Regions from separate parts of the Homo sapiens genome. Here region 1 is linked to region 2. The links are contacts of gene promoters, found by promoter capture Hi-C in human tissues and cell types (Jung and others, 2019). All regions are on one chromosome and are shown on one strand. Each heading gives the region's core, a stretch centred on a gene start or on the middle of the fragment in contact. The rest is flanking DNA. Distances are from core to core; before and after follow the strand shown. Region 1 overlaps MSRB3-AS1 (MSRB3 antisense RNA 1). Region 2 holds the start of MSRB3 (methionine sulfoxide reductase B3).

What was found. Contacts are between HindIII fragments. The study calls those that stand out against the background at their distance.
Region 1: a fragment that was not itself captured here is called in contact with the fragment with the promoter of MSRB3 in region 2 in 1 of the 25 tissues and cell types used here (hippocampus).

What each region holds. Positions count from the first base shown.
Region 1 is chr12:65,619,124-65,622,973 of GRCh38, forward strand. All of the region lies in intron 1 of MSRB3-AS1 (MSRB3 antisense RNA 1), which reads right to left. It overlaps LOC105369806 (a long non-coding RNA gene), which reads left to right and starts at 3,173. Exons shown (of 4, transcript XR_945028.3): 1 at 3,173-3,242. The HindIII fragment of the contact is 3,074 bases long and covers 1-3,054 here.
Region 2 is chr12:65,276,547-65,280,383 of GRCh38, forward strand. MSRB3 (methionine sulfoxide reductase B3) reads left to right here and starts at 2,137. Exons shown (of 7, transcript NM_001031679.3): 1 at 2,137-2,319. RefSeq lists silencers at 2,347-2,476, 2,577-2,886. The HindIII fragment of the contact is 15,252 bases long and covers 1-3,837 here.

The DNA.
Region 1 (3,850 bases), core at 268-2,767, 340 kb after region 2:
GCAGGGTTGTTCTATAGCGGGGTTTTGGTGTTTCTCTGGACAATTTTCAACTGTCACATGGAAGAGATGTGTCACACAGAAAATACACAGAGCAACTAGAAACTGGTCTGAAAATACAGCCACGTGACTTCAGTGAAGAAACATATCAGGCCTGAAGTGTGGGCAACAACAGTGACAGGTATAATTAGACATTGAGCAGATCAGTGTTTTTTGATTAATAAGCTTGTTCTTCCTATACATTAACTCATGGGCCTGAAAGGAACTTCAGGAAGTTACTTAGGTCACCCCTGACTATGTTTTTTTTTTTAATTATTATTATTCTTCCCTTAGCCTCAGCCCTATAATATGAGCTCTTCAAATGCTCAGACCCTTGGGCTCTGCATGAGGACCAATACAACTAATAAAATATAGTAGTGGCAGCAGTTGAAGCCGCCTTGTGATACCACTATTTTGTAGCCATATTAATAATATTGTGTGAGAATTGAGGCAAGGGTTTTGTGAGTCTTTCAGGGCTGCCCTTCTTTTAATAAGCCCCTGACAAGTTACAGCTTCTGCTTGGGGTAAAAGCTGATCACAGGACTTATGCACAATGGCTTCCACCGCCTTGCCTTAACAATTTATCCCTATCTAGCTACCAATTAGAAGCCTAAAGTTATAGAATGCTAGCGCTGGAGTAGTTATTAGGATTAATCTAACCCAAGCCCTTTGTTTTTCATTTTACAATGGAGGAAAGAGAATCTTAGGGGAAGTGATATGCCTAAAGTCACACAGTTAATGATTGGCTTACCTGAACTAGAACTAGAATGTAAATCTCTAAGTTTCCTAACTTTCAAATCAGTTTCTCTCTCCTGCAGCACACTGCCTTTTTTATTTGCATCAACAGTGTATGTGTGTATGTGCATTAATATTTCTAAGAGTTTGGCTTAAAGCATTCAGTAGGTGCCCATAGAATAATGTATGTTAAGCCAGAGAAGTAAAATGCATTGGATCAAAACATTCTCACTTGGAAAAAACATTAGAATCCTGGGAATTTCTTGAAATGCAAGAAAGCTCAGCCTCCAGGACTTGCAGTGTAAACACTGTGGCTAATTTGTTGAAGTGAGATGCCATTGATGATTCTCCCTGCCTTGAGAGATGACAGGGCTCCTTCGCAGAAAAAGCTGATTGCTGTAGCAGATTGCTAGGGGAAGGCACATTGCAAAAAGTGATCAGGAAAAGACAAGACATGTTACCAAGACAGATCATTTTTCTTGAAGAGGAGTTAAAAAAAGACACTAAAAAGGAATTCCTCCCATAAAGTTTGTCTTTCAGAGAGCAACCATTTCTACAACTCCGTTCCTGCCTAAAGAAGCAGGCTGTAACCTGGAGCAAAGCTTGGAGAGGCTAGTACATCAGTTTTACAGAAGCAGTTCTAAGAATAGTGAATATGGATAATACAGACAGCAACCCAGACACTTGATCCATGCGTTTGCTACGTAAAAGTTGGATGAGAATAACTTTCAACAAATTTACTTTCCAGTGACTTGTTATTTTTTAAATTGTATTCTTATTAATAAAAATGATACTTTGATACTGGGTATGTAACCAAAGGAAAATAAATCATTCTACCAAGAAGACACATACCCTTGTATGTTTATCACTGCACTATCCACAATAACAAAGACATTGGAATCAACCCAGGTGCCCATCACCGGTAGATTGGATTAAGAAAATGTGGCACATATACACCATGAAATGCTACAAAGCCATACAAAAAGAATGAAATCATGTCCTTTTCAGCAACGTGGATGCAGTTGGAGACCATAGTACTAAGTGAATTCACGAAGGAATAGAAAGCCAAATACCACATGTTCTCACTTACATTAGGAGCTAAACATTGAGAACATATGGACATAAAATGGGAGCGATAGACACTAGGGACTACTGGGAGGGGGGCATGGGTTGAAAAACTACCTATCAGGCACTATGTTCACTACCTTGGTGATGGGGGCTGTACTCCAAACCTCAGCATGGTGCAATATTCACATGTAACAAACCTGCATGTGTACCCCCTGTATCTAAAATATAAACTGAAATTAGAAAAAAAACAGAAGCCAACACCATGAGGTTTTCAGCTCCCCCATAATCTCCATAACCCTCTTTAGTCCTAAATAAACATAAATGTAAGTAAAAATAAATAAATAAAAAATAAAGATGACACTGTTTCTCCACTTATTTTCTTATCAAAGAAAAATGGCCACAAGCCATTCTGTAGAATAAGCTGCCTTATAAGAGTTTTATCCTTTTGACGTGATTTGATTTGAGGCTGTCCTTCTTTTCATTTGCTTTTAAATTCTATGTACAATAGAATAATTCAATTCCATGGGATATTTTTAAAATTCTTGTTTCCATCCATCAGTGAGTACTTTTCTTCTATTGCTATGAGATAATTTTTATTCTAATTCTACATGAAAATGGCAAATCAGATGTTAGAGCAGAAAGCTACCTTAGCAACCATCTGCTGCGATGTCCTCATGTTCTAGATGTAGGAATGTCCAGGGATTTCTTGATTTTTGGTGGCTCACCCAGGGGAAGACAGGGCATAAAATCTAGCTAGGACACACTTTCTGCTCCTACTCCTGTGCTCTTTCACTGCCAGACATTTCACCTTCATTAGAACAGCGCCTTAAATCATGTTTGTCTTAGGAAATATACCTCACTTTTCATATTTTAATGTGCTCACTTTCAAGGAAGCTTTAGAAAAACCATGAAATGCCTTTTATTTTTAACTTTAATTTTAATGAAAGGTGAAATTTTCTTTCTATATTAAATTCCAGGTAGGAGAGTTACTATTAATAAGTTAGTTATGTTTATTTGTGGCTACATTAGTCAGATTTGGGCTATACTAATTCTGGGTAGCAAACAACTATGAAATCTTAGTGGGTTCAACAATAAAGTTTCACTTTTTGGCTAAGGATCTGTGCATTGGCAGGCTCTAGGTGAGTTCAGGTTTGCTCTACCTAATTTCTCACTCTGGTAGCTGACTGGGACTTGCTTGTTTCATGGCAGATGGCAAATGCCCAAGAGCGCAAACCGGACCATGCAAGTGCCATGAAGCCTCTGTTCAGAACACATCTGCTCACATCCCATTGGCCAGAAAAAGTCACATGGCAAAGCCCAACGGCAGAGATGAATGCCTTGTCCGCTGTACAGAAGCACTGCAGTTATATGACAAGGCGTGTGGATGCAAATGCTTTTATAGGGTGAGCACGGAGAATTGAGCCTAGTATTCCAACCTACTACTTGTGAAAATTAAAATAGAAAGAAATTGTTACTTTTCTCTAAAATTGGAAATTAAACTATTGAATTCTCCAAGATGCCTAGATTAAGACAAAGCTTTATTTAAAATTTAATTTTCTGAATGCCTTTGGTTTTCTTGTATAATCTAGTACAGTTTAGGTTATTTAGATACTCAGTAAATACTTGAGGGATTCATAAATGCTGTGTCCACTAAGTAACTACTCCTTTTGTAACATTAGTTCATTCATCCATTAAGGACTATTTATTGAGTGCTACTATGTGCCAGGCACTACAGTATTTATAAGTGAGGGAAACACATCAATGTTCAGAAAATAAAAATGCTGCCTGTATGGAGCTTATGCTCTGACAACATATTTTTCTTTAAAAAGAAAAAATAGTAAGCAAAACATATTGTATGTTAGTATCTGATATACGCTTTATACAAAATCAGGCTAAAAGAATTAGGAGGACTAAGGTGGGGACAGTGACAGGCTACAGTTTTTCTGTAGTGTAAAAAAGGGGTACAGGGTAGATCTTACCAAAAGTTGACATTTGAGCAGAGACTTGAAGG
Region 2 (3,837 bases), core at 887-3,386:
TGAGGATTTAATTCTAATACTACTTCACTTCTTCCTGGTAGCATATTACTTACCTATGCCTCAGTCTCCTTAGCTGTAAAATAGGGATAAAAATAATCTCAGAGATATTTGTAAGAATTAAATGAGATATCAGTTATAAAAAACATCTAGCACAGTGTCTGGCACTTATCATGCACTTAGTAACTTTAGTTCTTTTCTGCCACTCTTAGCATATTTATTCAAGCCTTTAGAATAGTGGTTGGCATTGCTGACAGTGATGTCAGCTATGTTGATACAATGAACTCTCTATTTTTACTAACATGAATTGGGTTGTAATGATATTGCATTTTTTATAATTCTATATTTTTGTATGTAAGGTTCTTCACTAAAATATTTTAAATATAGGCATAATTATTGCAATCCTTTGAAACATGCTTTACACTTAGGGAGCTTCTAAATTCCTTTCTACAAATGGCTGTGCCCATTTTATTTTTGTTTTTAAACAAACATTTGGACTATGGGCAAAGAACTTTGCAAAGTGTTGTGGGGGAAGTAGAAAAACAGACACTTATGTAACACAAGGCTATAAAAAAAGAGGAAACGGAGGGAATACTGAAGAGCTTCTTCAGTATTTCCAACTACCTAGGTTCTAGGTACCTAATTAAATAGTCATGTTATGTGTCATTTAAATCCTTTATTCATTGCATTACAATTTATTCACCATTACTTTATCTGGGTCATCTACCCTTAGTCCCATTATAATTGCCAATGCATTAAGGGTGACATTTGCCCATTTGCTATATGTAATTCACAGGATGTGGTGTTTTTCAGTACCAGATGTTTTGAGGGGAGCCACTTGCAATGGACTGTTTTTTGGTGTATGTGTTTTAATAGTTTGCCAGAACTGAGTTTGATTTGAAACAACGTTCTTGATTTTCAAATACAGCATTTTCAAACAAATAGTGTGATGTACAAATTACCATCACTTTAGTTCACGTTGAAATAATCCACACTCTAAATCTGTTTGACATTTACCCCTTAAGTATTTTGGATCAATAAATCATTTCTGTATCATCTAGCATCTTAAAATGTTCGTAAGTAACTACTTAATACCCTACATATCCAGGTCCTGTCCCATTAGTTTGAGGGAAAAAATATATTATAGTAATTAAGACATAATTATGTTGTCTTGAAAAGCTAAGGGTCATTTGGACTTGATTACCCAAGGAGTTATCAGTGCCAAGGAAAATTAGGCAACTACAGGCTTGGGCCTGTAATTAAACATCTAGGACTGACATTTTGTTCATCAGAGGTGGCACCTTCTGAATGAATTACACCATTTCATTTTAGACAAGCTACGGTACATACAAAACAAGTGTGTGGAGGGGGTTGGGGGGTGGACATGAATAGAGATTGGAGGTGGAGAGAAAGACCGGTGTAAACTTAAGCATTTTGTTGTGAAAAACTACTGTTCAGCCAGCCTGCCTGGGCTCCATATATGGTGTTCAAATATAAGTTTGGGACGAGCACCTTTGCAATTTTGGCCAAGAACACACACACACTCACCCTCCTCTGCTAGAGAGGGCCCGCTCACCTGGAACGCAGGCGGCTGGTTCTCCGTATTACAGTGAGTGCTCGTTCTGTATGTATAGGATGGCCAAGTAACTAACTGGCAGCCCTGCTCCTGCCTCACTCTCCCACAACTTTTTATCCCCTCACCACCAACGCTCTCAACAACCCCTGACACGTCTTCCCACAGGTCCCTGGCTCGCTGTCCGGTCTCTTCGTGTTGGTTTGTCCGTTTCCCACTCCTTCAGCGGTCTCAGGTGGAACACGCCAGGTGGGCGCTTGGCTGTGTTCTGGGGTCCCGAGTTGGAAAGGGATGCCCCCAGGCAGAAGGCGGCCGGCAGCCCTGGGGCAGAGGAGGACGAGGGGGAGGAGAGGAGCAGGAGGGCAGGGCAGAGAAGGAGGAGGAGGAGGACGGTGCAGAGGAGGAGGAGGAGGAGGAAGAGGACAGGGCAGAGGAGGAGGGAGTTGGCGGCCGCCGAGCCCCGGGCAGCGGGCCCCGTCCGCGGCCGGCGCGCTCCGTGGTCCTCCCTCGCTCGTCTCCTATGCTCATATTTGGACTCGGCTGCCCGTGCCCAGGAATTTCCCGTCATGCCTCCCGCCGCCCCGTCCGTCGCCCGGAGCCGGGGAGGGAGGGAGCGAGGTTCGGACACCGGCGGCGGCTGCCTGGCCTTTCCATGAGCCCGCGGCGGACCCTCCCGCGCCCCCTCTCGCTCTGCCTCTCCCTCTGCCTCTGCCTCTGCCTGGCCGCGGCTCTGGGAAGTGCGCAGTCCGGTAAGTTCGGGCTCCCCTCCCCTCTCCTCCTCGCCTCACCCCTCCCACCCCGACCCTGCCACGTTAGGGTGTGACCCCGAGCCGGGATTCCATTCTGCGCCTGCTGCGCCCCCTCGGCCACCTGCGGGGACAGCCCCTGCCTCAGCCGAGAAGGGGAGCAGAAGGGTTGCGCCCCGCGCCAGCGGTGAGGGGCCGAACGGAAGGAGGTCAGGGCTGGTTTCCCCCCACCCGCCGAAGGGAGGCGTCTGGCAGCCTCACTGACACCTTATCCTGTCCCGGGAGCGAACCTGAACCCGCGGGAGCCTCTCGCCCCGCGCGGGCCCAGGAGAGAGGGATCTGGCGGGGCAGCCCGCGGGAGGCAGGGGAGGGGTCCATCCCGGAGCCCTCTGCTCTGTGCGTCGACCCTGCCGGGGTTGCCGCTCAGATAACGGGCCCGAGGCGTGGGAACCGGCCCGCCAGGCCTGCGCTTTTCGCCGCGCGCCTCGGAGAGGACGGGGGTGCGGGGCGGCGGGCAGGCGGCAGGGAGGGGCGCACCCGGGAGCGCACCCGCCGCCCGCCCTCCCTGCGCTGCTGCCCCGCTGCTGGGCCAGACTCCAGCGGGCCCGCCTGGCATTTCACAGGCCAAAATCGAACAGAACCCCGAGTTTGCCAGGTATCAGTTTTGCTTTGTTTTTAAGCAGAAAAAGGCATCCAAGTCTATTTTTGAAGTTTTACACTGGGCTATTTCGAGTCAAACTATATGAATGAAAAGTGCTGTTCCTGCCTTATTTGGTTTAGGGCTAATAGCTATCGGAAGTGGCAGTTATGAAGTCGTTACAGTAAGACTTTATAAGATAATCTTCTTGAATCATGTGGGAACTGTTGGGGGGAATTTAATATCAGATTATTATTTTAAAAAGCAGTTATTTTAAAGTACAAAGGTAGGGATAAAGGTAAATGTGAAATTGCATGGACTTTTACGTTTGTGATGAGTAGTCGTCAAAGCTTCTTGCTTCTTAATTTTATCGGGAATGGAAGAATATAAATTATAATTCCTTAGAGCTGAGATTTCTTAGGAGATTTTAGTTTGCTTTTGTTTTTTCTACCAATAGACTAAATTGTCAAATAAGATATGGCAAACTAGGACTCATAAATTAGTTGAAACATGACTCTATGAAGCATAGATTATATTCAGTACTCTCTGGTTTATCTCTTCATATTTTCATTTGCAGCGCTGGTGGCAAGATCGATTTTCAAAAACAATTTTGTCTATAAAAAAACTTCAGGGTTCATATAACTTATAAAATTGTCAGTTCAGATTAATGGCAGATATTTACAATATTTAACTTTATTCAATTTGCAATTTGTAAATAGTAACTTGAGCAGTGATATCAGTTTCATGTTTCTTTCTGCATAGTATTGTTTTTCAAAAAAACCCTGTTTTTTATAGATTCATATTTTGGAAGTAACTTTAATAGCACTTCTTGGGAAATACAACAGGTTCTAATTTCACATTTTTCAATGGATTTCTAAAAAATA